Regions from separate parts of the Homo sapiens genome. Here all the other regions are linked to region 1. The links are contacts of gene promoters, found by promoter capture Hi-C in blood cells and fetal thymus (Javierre and others, 2016). All regions are on one chromosome and are shown on one strand. Each heading gives the region's core, a stretch centred on a gene start or on the middle of the fragment in contact. The rest is flanking DNA. Distances are from core to core; before and after follow the strand shown.

What was found. The method cuts DNA at HindIII sites, captures the fragments that hold promoters and counts their contacts. A CHiCAGO score of 5 or more calls a contact.
Region 2: a contact is called between a fragment that was not itself captured here and the fragment with the promoter of GRK5 in region 1, in 6 of 17 cell types (total CD8 T cells, naive CD4 T cells, total CD4 T cells and 3 more). The highest score is 8.8, in total CD8 T cells.
Region 3: a fragment that was not itself captured here is called in contact with the fragment with the promoter of GRK5 in region 1 in 14 of 17 cell types (fetal thymus, naive B cells, total B cells and 11 more); the score reaches 12.4 in fetal thymus.

What each region holds. Positions count from the first base shown.
Region 1 is chr10:119,205,684-119,209,164 of GRCh38, forward strand. It overlaps GRK5 (G protein-coupled receptor kinase 5), which reads left to right and starts at 1,888. Exons shown (of 16, transcript NM_005308.3): 1 at 1,888-2,286. The coding sequence starts at 2,235. GRK5-IT1 (GRK5 intronic transcript 1) reads left to right here and starts at 2,738. Exons shown (of 2, transcript NR_186528.1): 1 at 2,738-2,967. RefSeq lists enhancers at 395-474, 585-634, 655-764 and silencers at 1,105-1,934, 2,145-2,214, 2,265-2,314. The HindIII fragment of the contact is 5,116 bases long and covers 1-3,481 here.
Region 2 is chr10:119,520,327-119,523,807 of GRCh38, forward strand. The region is part of intron 3 of RGS10 (regulator of G protein signaling 10); the gene reads right to left. Among named protein-coding and RNA genes, the nearest start is that of RGS10, 21 kb to the right of the region's middle. The HindIII fragment of the contact is 8,074 bases long and covers 1-3,481 here.
Region 3 is chr10:119,477,755-119,481,235 of GRCh38, forward strand. No RefSeq gene overlaps it. Among named protein-coding and RNA genes, the nearest start is that of RGS10, 63 kb to the right of the region's middle. RefSeq lists enhancers at 320-389, 1,739-2,318. The HindIII fragment of the contact is 2,942 bases long and covers 398-3,339 here.

The DNA.
Region 1 (3,481 bases), core at 638-3,137:
ATCCTCCCGCCTCGGCCTCCCAAAGTGCTGGGATTACAGGCGTAAGCCACCGCGCCCGGCCCAAGAAAATTGTTAAGGTGCATAAGCCATCTAAAGGCATTCAAAAATTTTCTTTCTTTTTTTTTTTATGTTAGCCGAATAAACAAACTTCGGGCTTCATCAGGCCCTATGCTGCCAGCAAGTGACCAGCGTGGTTGGTGGAGGGCTCTAGGAGCTGCCAGCTTTAGGGGTCTCGCTGTCTGAGAGAGATCCTTTCATTAAAGGTTAGGGCTCTAGGCACGTGAATATGTAGCAAAGACCAAGCCTGGATTGCTTAGAACAGTAATTCCTGGAGTGGTAAGTGCCTGAAAAGTTACCCGCTGAGCCCTCCGCCTTCTGACAGGTAAACTGTTGTTGCCCCCATTTTGCAGACAAGATAAATGAGGCCCTGGGAGACTCACTGACCCAAGTCTAGACACCAGGAAGTGGTGGTGGTGGGTATACTCCCCCAGGAAAGCAGGTAATCTTGGGTTGTTACAATCAGTGACCAGACCAGTTTCCAAGGCCTGGAAGGTTTATTGATTTCTTTATATTCTCCAATGCATAATAACTGTTCTCTGTTTCTCTCGGCACCTCCCTGCGACTTCCTGGCAGCCCTGGGGACAGAGGGTTTCCTCCTTCTGGACAGAGAAGGCCCAGAGTCGGCTTCTGAACGGATATCCGGCCCGCAGGATGCAGAGGAGGCAAAGGCCTCATTGTTCTTTGGGGCCTGCCTGCCCCGCCCCCAGCTGTAGGACACTCGTGGCAGATCCCGGGTGACCGAAGACAGCCCATTTCCAGGAGTGGGGCCTTCGGAGCGGAGGGAGCAAGGAAACGGGGCTGAGCACAGACCTGGAGTCTGATGTTCTGAGCATAACACTGGAAGGAGCTAAGAGCCCCAAAATAAATAAGACCGGAATTTAAAAACGTTAATCCCACGCCGGCTTGGCGCTGGCCTGGCTGTTACTCATTAACGCTCCCCACGGCGGAGACTCCGGCGACTCCGTCTGCGTTTTTATTACTTAATCTGGCTGGGTTTGGCTGCAGGGAGGCTCGTGGATTTGCTGGCCGGGTGTGCTGGAAGGCAGTTTATTCACAGAATAAGCAGCTTCCCACGCTGGACCCTGAGCCCCAGGCGCCGTCCGCGTAGACCCCGCGCCGCGCACCGCGGCCGGCGGGGGGCGCTCGGGTCGCACCGAGAGCAGCGCGGGCAGCCAGCGCCGGGTCGCAGCCGACCCGCAGAGCCCTTCGCGCCCTCCGAGGAAACAAAGTGCATCTTTGTCCGCGGCCCGAGGCGCCGCGTGGGAGACGCTGGGCAGGGGCCAGGCCGGGCCGGCCGCCGCCGCGTGCGGGGACCCTGGGCGCGCGTCACTGACCCGGGACTCAGACCCTCGCGGGCCTGGCGCGGACCGGAGGAAGCGGGCTGTGGCGCGCGGCCGAGCTGGCAGCCCTCCCACTCCGAGCACGGCTCGGGACCCGCACTGGCTCCTGCCGGGCCGCGGCGCTTCACGCGCCGTCACCGGGGCCCGTGCACTCCGCTTTCCGGGCTGGCGACGGGGCGGGAAGGGGGCAAGCGGGAGCCTGCGGGGGGGTGCTGGGGACTTCGGCTTGGCTGGGCCGCCTTTGAGTCGCCTGTCGGCCGGGCGGTGCCCGCCTTCGCTTTCGGTGCCGTCCCGGGGCGGGTCCTCGCTCCGACAGCCGCGCGCCAGCCCAGCTCAGCCCCGGCGCCGCGCGGCCGGGAGGACTCCAGCTCCCAGCAGGCCCCGCGCCGCGAGCACCGAGGCAGGAGGCGCGCCTGGGCCGGCGCTTGCGCAGTGCGGCCGCCCGAGCCTGCTAGTACCACACCCCCGGGAGGGACTGAGGGGAGGCAGAAGCATCCGAGGCATTAAAGCATCCGAGGGAGCCGGAGGGGAGGAGAATGGAGTGACAGAGACACGCGGAGGGTGGGGGGTGGGGGGGAGCGTGTTGAGGGAGGGGGGAGGGGGGACACAGAGGGAGGAAGAAGCGGCGGCGGCGGCGGCGGCGGCGGCGGCTCCTCTTTGCAGAGGGGGAAACTCTTGGGCTGAGAGCAGGAATAATGCGGTAGGCAAGGCGGGCTGCTGGCTCCCCCGGCTCCGGCAGCAGCGGCGGCAGCCCGAGCAGCGGCAGCAGCAGCGGCAGCACCCCAGGCGCTGACAGCCCCGCCGGCCGGCTCCGTTGCTGACCGCCGACTGTCAATGGAGCTGGAAAACATCGTGGCCAACACGGTCTTGCTGAAAGCCAGGGAAGGTAAGAGGCAGGGCCGGTACGTGCCCGGCGCGTCCGCCGCGGGCCAGGGTGCGGGTGTCGGGTGGCGTGCGGGCTGGGGCTGCGCCCGTGCAGGATGCCCGCTGCCGGCGAGTGGGTCGCGAGCAGGACACTTCGGAGAGCGGCTCTGCAGACCCTTCAGGGTTCCTGCCTTGGGGCTCAGAGAATCTGGACTTGGGCTGAGAAGGTTGCAGGGATTTGGATGCTAACATATCTCCTAGTTTCCAGCGCTCGCCCTGCAGAGCGTGCCATCTCGGCAGCTGTTGAAAGGTCAGTTGGAAAAGCATTCATTCGGGGAGCGACGAGCAAACATGCACATAAAATAGCGTTTCAAGTCGGCCCGGGATGGTTCTGTGTGAACTGGTGTGTGTGTTCGAGGGGCGGGGGTGGAATGAGCAGAAGCCAAGTCTTTGCCTGCGCAGGCTGAGTTGATATAGACTATTGCTGGAAACCATCCGCTGGGATGTTTCTTAGGGAAATCCCGTCGTGTGGAAGGAAGCCTTTTAAAGGCAAAGTCAGATGTTGAGGAATTAGCCTTTTCATAGAATTATCAAAGGATGGCTGTACAGACCACCTAGAAAATAATTCAGTATTTCAGGTTTTTCTTTTCTGGGAGTGTGATAACTGAAATTGTTAGATTTTGGCTCAGTTAAGAAAAGAAAGGTAAGTGTGCTGGTGCTTTAGATACGTTTTCTATGCAAATCATTAGATTTCCTGCATTTAGCTGGCAGGAAATATTGTCTAAATGGAGTGTGTAAGATCCTGAGTCAAACCCTAAGAACGCATATTTTGACTCTTCCTTTTGATGAAAAACAGAAAAAAGGGGGGGGAGGCAGAAACTTGGGTGCTTCCTGAAATGATTGTGTTGTGTCCATGTAAACATATGTATTTAGGAATACCTGGAATTTATGTCGCATATTTTCCTTTTTTTTTTCTGGTCAAGATTTGAGCTCTAGTGTGCGACCTTTTTCATAAAAGGGGAAGAGGTTTTTCCCTTTCACGGGAGAACGCTTTATTTGATACAAGGTAGAAGGCAGACTGAGTAAGGGCTTGAGTTTAGAAGGATACTCGGTGAGCAGCCCATGAAAATGTCTTACCTGCTTAATATTTTCATTCACCTACTTTGATGAATGAAGGGAAGAATTTCTGGCCAGCAATAAAACGATTCGTGTTTATT
Region 2 (3,481 bases), core at 301-2,800, 310 kb after region 1:
GAACAGGTGGGGAGGGGGTGCCAACGAGAAGCGCGTCCGGAGACGGCAGGAGCTCGAGGGCATCAGGTAGCCCAGACGGAATTGATGAGGGCGGCAGAAAGAAGCCATCAGACCCCCAGGTCCTCCACCCCAGGTCCTGCTCCAAACTTGAGCAGTCAGGTGGCTCCCCCGCCACCTTCAACAGAAGAGTTGAGTTTTCTTATCTAAAGAAACAGACCCAGGGAGGCTCCGGAACAGAGAGGCACAGAGGACGGCAAGAATGAGACGCCGAACCGAATAAAGGGATTCAGGGAAATTCCAAATATAGACCCCCCGCGCCAGCAAAATTCTCCTGACACAGTTAATTAGAAATATGTTTAGTTCAGGAACATATCAGGCTTATGGCCCCCCAGGAAGAGACTAGAGGGCCCTTGTCTGGAAAAATAAAAAAGCAGAAAAAACTCAATAGGAGGATCTGAAGATGTAGTCAAAATCTCCAAAAGCAAAAAAAAAAAAAAAATTAAAAAATAGGAAGAATAAAACATGAAATTAAGGGCTCAATGCAGGGCGTGAAAGGTCATCATTGGAAAAGAGACCAGAGACAATGGAAGGAAAAAAAGTTACTAAAATGATGATAACAATAACAACATAAGACCATTTCCCAGAACTACAAATTTCCAGATTATATGGCTCCACAAAGAATTCACACAATGAATGAACTCCGCCTCTGCCTCCAAAGCCCCTGACTGAACAGTTTTAGAATACTAGTGATGAAAAGATCCTGACCAGGTGGAGTGGCTCACACCTGTAATCCCAGCACTTTGGGAGGCTGAGGCGAGAGGATTTCTTTTGGGACCAGCCTAAGCAACATGGTGAGACTGCTTAAACCCAGGAGGTCCAGGCTGCAAAGAGCCGTGACCTCACTATATTCCAGCCTGGGTGACAGAGTGAGACCCTGTCTCAAAAAGAAAAGAAAAGAAAATTGCTGGGCGTGGTGGTTCACACCTGTAATCCCAACACTTAGGGAGGCCAGGGCAGGTGGATCACCTGAGGTCAGGAGTTTGAGATCAGCCTGACCAACATGGCGAAACCCCATCTCTACTAAAAATACAAAATTAGCTGGGTGTGTTGGAGGGTGCCTGTAATCCCAGCTACTTGGGAGGCTGAGGTAGGAGAATCGCTTGAACCTGGAAGACAGAGGTTGCAGTGAGCCGAGATCATGCCATTGCACTCCAGCCTGGGCAACAAGAGCGAAACCCCATTAAAAAAAAAAAGAAAGAAAGGAAGGAAGGAAGGAAAGAAAGAAAGGAAGGAAGGAAAGAAAGGAAGGAAGGAAGGAAGGAAGGAAGGAAAGGAGGAAAGGGGAAAAATAGAAAAGAAAATAGATCCTATACTATCCCAGAGAGGGAAAAAAAGAAAAAAAAAAAAAAACAGAACAGTTTACATATAAATTACTGATTCTCAACAAAAGTAGAAGACTAAGGAATAATGTCTTCAAACTTCTGAGTGTGTTTCACCCCAGAATTCTATGCTCTGTCAGATTATCAGTGAAGTAGGAGAGTAGGGAAAAAAATAACATTTCCACTCAACAAGGTCTTTACATACCTACCTGCCAGACCCCCCTTCTCAGGAAGCTATTGCCAGCTGTGTTTTGGGCTCTTCTCTCATGAGTCATTCTGGAGGGAAGAAGTCATTCTCGTGTGCTGTTCCCAAAATGAGGGAATGACTCAGGAGAGAAGAGGACTTGGATCCAGGAAATGGAATGCCTTCATCCTACAAAGAGGAAGGAAGTTCACCATGTGTCAGGCATGGGTCTAGACCCTCGGAGACAGTGGGGAAGAAGAGGCCCCCCACTCCCAGATTCCAGAAGACAAACCACACAGAAGACGGACAAGTAAATGACATGGATATGTGAAGTTGTTGAATGCTGGATAATCCACGTCAAGGAATGAACCAACACAGGTCCTATTAAAACAACAGAGGCGAGAGTGGGATTTGTATCGACTCCTCAACAGCCTTAGTTGATGGAGAGAGAAAAATCCTCCCATGGTCTCCCTGCTGGAACAGATGTGATAAGTTTGACTGTGAAATCCAGTTAGGTTACGTGCACAACAGAGGATTAAAAAGAACTGGCCGGGCGCGGTGGCTCACGTCTGTAGTCCCAGCACTTTGAAAGGCCGAGGCGGGTGGATCATCTGAGGTCAGGAGTTTGAGACCAACCTCGCCAACATGGTGAAACCCATCTCTACTAAAAATACAAAAATTAGCTGGGCATGGTGGCACATGCCTGTAATCCCAGCTACTCAGTAGGCTGAGGCAGAAGAATCACTTGAACCCGGGAGGCGGAGATTGCAGTGAGCAGAGATCGTGCCACTGCACTCTAGCCTGGGCGAGAAGAGCGAAACTCCGTCTCAAAAAAAAAAAAAAAAACAAAGACATTCAGTTAGGCGACTTCTCCCAGTGCCTATGTTCCTCCACACTTTTTGTAGTAATTTAGAGCTTACTCCCTGGTTTTACTTCCTAGGCAGCGGGACTCACTAGGGAATGCCTGGAGTCAGAAATGTGGCTCTGAATTCTTTTTTTTTTTGTTGAGACAGGGTGTCACTTTGTCATCCAGGCTGGAGTGCAGTGGCGCAATCATACCTCACTGCAGCCTTGACCTCCCTGGGCAACTACAGGCGCACTCCATCATGTCTAGCTAATTTTTTTTTTTTTTTTGGTATTTTTTGTAGAGACAAGGTCTCACCATGTTGCTCAGACTGGTCTTGAACTCCTGGGCTCAAGTGATCCACCCACCTTGACCTCCCAAAGTGTTATAATTGCAGGCGTGAGCCACTGTGCCCAGCCTCGGGCGAGCTGCCGCTTAACCACTCAAGTCATATCCCTGCATCTTCGAATGGGAACAGTGACTCACACTGGGGCCCAAACACTCCAGGCCAAACACCCCAGGTGTCACCAATGCCTCCACCCAATCTGCATTCTCAGGCAGTGACAGGAGGGTGGCATTCATTGCTCTAAAGCAATTGCCGGGTGCATTCCAGGCTTAAGGACACAGACTTTCAAGAAGTCCTATGCTGGGCCGAGTACAGTGGCTCACACCTGTAATCCCAGCACTTTGGAAGGCCAAGACAGGCGGATCACTTGAGGTCAGAAGTTCTAGACCAGCCTGGCAAACATGGTGAAACCCTGTCTCTATTCAAAATACAAAAATTAGCCAAGCATGGTAGCACACACTTGTAATCCCAGCTACTCGGGAGGCTGAGGCAGGAGGATCACCTGAACCCAGGAGGCGGAGGCTGCAGTGAGCCAAGACCTCACCACTGCACTCCAGCCTGGGCAACAGAGTCAGACCTTGTCTCAAAAAAGGAAAAGAAGTCCTATGCTGGATGTCAGGGGTACAGGCATGGAAAGGGGCTGCCCATTCGGAAGCTCTCTCTGTAGGATGTGGACAGGGCAGGGCAACCCAACACCAGACCTGCCTGACCTGAAAGGCTGGAAGAGG
Region 3 (3,481 bases), core at 619-3,118, 270 kb after region 1:
GGTTGACGGTGCTGGGTCACTCCAGCTGAGATCATTTGCAAGCCTGTCTTTTACAGCCCTTGGTTCTCTTCAAACCCCATGGGCATATTGTGTCTCTGGCTCCCAGTTCTTCCCACCACCTTTCCTATAGGTGGCTTCATCCTACACACTTTGGAGATGGTCATGATACCTTGATGATGACAGAGGGCTTGCACTTCTCCCTACAATGCCATAGATCTAGCCCATTCCTTAAACCGTCTCAAAAAGGCACCTCCAGCCCTTTTAACCTTTGATGCCGTACCCTGTCCTGTTGTTCTTTGCCACAGATTCCAGATTCCTATAGATCCGTGTCACTCATTGTGAATCAAAGCTATTCTGCAGGACACAGAATAAATGGCAGAAAGGGAGGTCACTGGAAAGCTTCATGTAGAATCATAGCTCAGGGCAGGACAGCCTGTGTGCTGCACGCTTGGCCACACCAGCCAACGGTTAAAGAAGTCAGCACTGCAGGGGATGCCCCAGAGAGGGTGAGCAGGAAATTGCAATCTACATAGACCCAAAGGTGCAGAGGAAAGGTCACAGGACCGGGCATCAGAGCCCCCTGCTCACTGCAGGTCTCTCTGTGTGTGTGGCAGGGGCGTGGCGGGGGGAGAGGAACAGGTGTCACATGACCTCTGTCCCTAAGCATCTGAACTGAAGAAGTAAAGAGGTCAGCCAGCCTCCTCCCACTCCAGACCTCTGGGATACTTAAAGTAAGTGTTGCAGGGTTTGTAGCATCTTGGAACCTTTCTTCCTACATCACAGAAAAAAAAAAAAAAAAGTCCAGTGAACCGGTTCCACCTCTTAAGAAACTGTGGTTTCTACAGCCTGAACTTGAGCAAAACTGGAACATCAGAAAATTATTTCCTCCTGCCCCATCTCTGATGTAATAGCAGATCCAGTCCTCAGCTCTGTTTCTATAGAGAAAGCTGGGTGAACGGGATGGGTCTTTATTGAGTTCCCTTTGACGTTCTTCCAAAAAATAGATGTGATTTTCCCCTCTCCCTCCCTCTGTCTCCTTCCATCATCCTTGCCTCCTTTGGACCCATAGAAGGGGGTTCTTGTGGGAAGTGATGATCTCTGAGCCAGGCCCTCTTTCAGATGAGCTATGAAGTTAGTTTGTTTACTTATTTTTTTCATCTAAACCCCAAATACCACAGAACCAGCACCTGCAATTTTTCCTAACACATCCTTTGAACTTGCTGCAAGTTAAACTGTAGAGGTTTCATTTCTCAGTTGTAATTCAGGGTGTCTTCCCCATGCCATTTGCTTCCAAGGAGCAACATCTTCCTCCCTTTCTACCCCAACTCCCATCAACAACTGAAAAAAACGAGAAATCAGAACTTCAGCCACAGCAGCCTTTCCTGGCTCTGTGTGAACACCGTGGAGAGGATACAGCCCTTGACTCCCTGGCCCTCCTCCCTCTCACGTCTAAGCTGGGAACACCATAAACAGTCACAGTGCTGAGCCAGGCAGAGAGGCAGACGGGTACAGCCAGACGGGACAGATGTAATTAGCAGCATCATTGCTTTGGTGTGCAGAATAGATAGCAGAATGCCGCCACCCACATGATGCTTTGGCAAATGTACTGTCGCTCATTTTCACAAACAATTCAATAGGTCTTTTAAAAGTGCCGACAACAAGCAAAGAAAGTCACGGAAAGAAACCAGAGTGACAACTCAGCCCGAGTGCCAAAGTTACTTGAGAGCTGCTCTGGGAACAGTGAAGCCAAACCAACTCCGAGTTCAATCTGATCCAAGTTCAGATGGACAGAGCCTGGCATCCATGGGGCAAGCAGTGGTGCCCGATTCATCGTCAGATAAAGTGAGCTCAGATGCCACCGTGTTCCTGATGTAGCTGTCACATGATGCCTCTGAGTCGTACTTTTTCCATCTGCTTAATGGGCATGTTGATCCTGGTGTGTGTATTTCTAGACTTGCTGTGAGGCTGGCGGGAGGCCACTTGGAAGGGAAAGTCTTTGTGATCTACACAGTGGGGGTCGTCATTAAGGAAGAGCCTCAGGAATTGCAGCCACAAGGACAGTGCCATTCCTAAGGTAAATCACGGGAAGAAGAAGCCTCTTAACCCCACCTCCTACAGCAGCGAGCATTAACTCCTCCCCAGTGGCAATTCCCCAGGCCTCTCTCCTCATGAAGCCCAAGGATCAATGAAGTAACTCTTACATTCTCCAGCACCCACATGGTCCAGTCTCGAGCCATTGTGCAGCTGGAGAAGCACAGTCCAGTGTGTTTTTCTTCTGTTTCCCCAGCACTCTGAAGGAGAGCCCAACACCAAGTTCTAATAATTTATTAATTTTTTTATTTTTAATGCATTTTTATTTTATTTTATTTTATTTTATTTTATTTTATTTTATTTTATTTTATTTTAGAAGGAGTCACTCTGTTGCCCAGGCTGGAGTGCAGTGGTGCAATCTCAGCTCACTGCAACCTCTGCCTCCTGGGTTCAAGCAATTCTCTTGCCTCAGCCTCCTGAGTAGCTGGGATTACAGGCATGTGCCACCACACCCAGCTAATTTTTTGTATTTTTAGTAGAGACAGGGTTTCACCATGTTGGCCAGGCTGGTTTCGAACTCCTGACCTCAAGTGATCCACCCACCTCGGCCTCCCAAAGTGTTGGGATTATAGGTGTAAGCCACTGCGCTTGGCCTTTATTTTTATTTTTAAAAGACAGGGTCTCACTTTGTCATCCAGGCTGGAGTGCAGTGGTGTAATCATGGCTCACTGCAGCCTCAAACTCCCAGGCTCAGACAATCCTCCCACTACTTAGCCTCCCAAGTAACTGGGACTAGAGGCATGTGCCTTCATGCCCAGCTAATTTTTTATTTTTTGTAGAGATGGGGGTCTCACACTGTTGCCCAGGCTGGTCTCAAACTCTTGGGCTCAAGCAATCCTCTCACCTCAGACTCCCAAAGTGCTGGGATTACAGGTGTGAGACATTGTACCTGGTTTGGGAGCCTATTAAAATCCTCATTTCTCTCCTATCCATGTCTCTCACCCTGGCAGCCACCCTGGCACCCCCTTCACTTCTCCCTTCCCTCTTCTGCCCCTTCCTGTATCATGTAGCTTTGCCTGGCATTTTTTCCATGGGCGGAGATGATGTAAGCCAGCTGGCAATGACGGGGTTTTCAAAGGCAGCTGGTAACAGAGGAAGGCTCGCAGACTAATACTTATTACCCCACTGCCATTGTTTCATTTAATGTTGTCCTCAAAGCTCTCCTGGGTTCAAACTTAAAACCCATGCAAGTGTCAAAACAAATCGTGCCTTTTTGAGTATTTTTTTCTCTCCTGGATCTTCCTTTCAAGCTTGTTTCCTACCTTCCCTCCGGGTGAAAATGAAGATTTGAGTTCCTATTTTCTTTCTTTTTTTTTTTTTTTTTGAGACGGAGTTTTGCTCTCATTGCCCAGGGCTGGAGTGCAGTGGCGTGACATTGGCTCACTGCAAC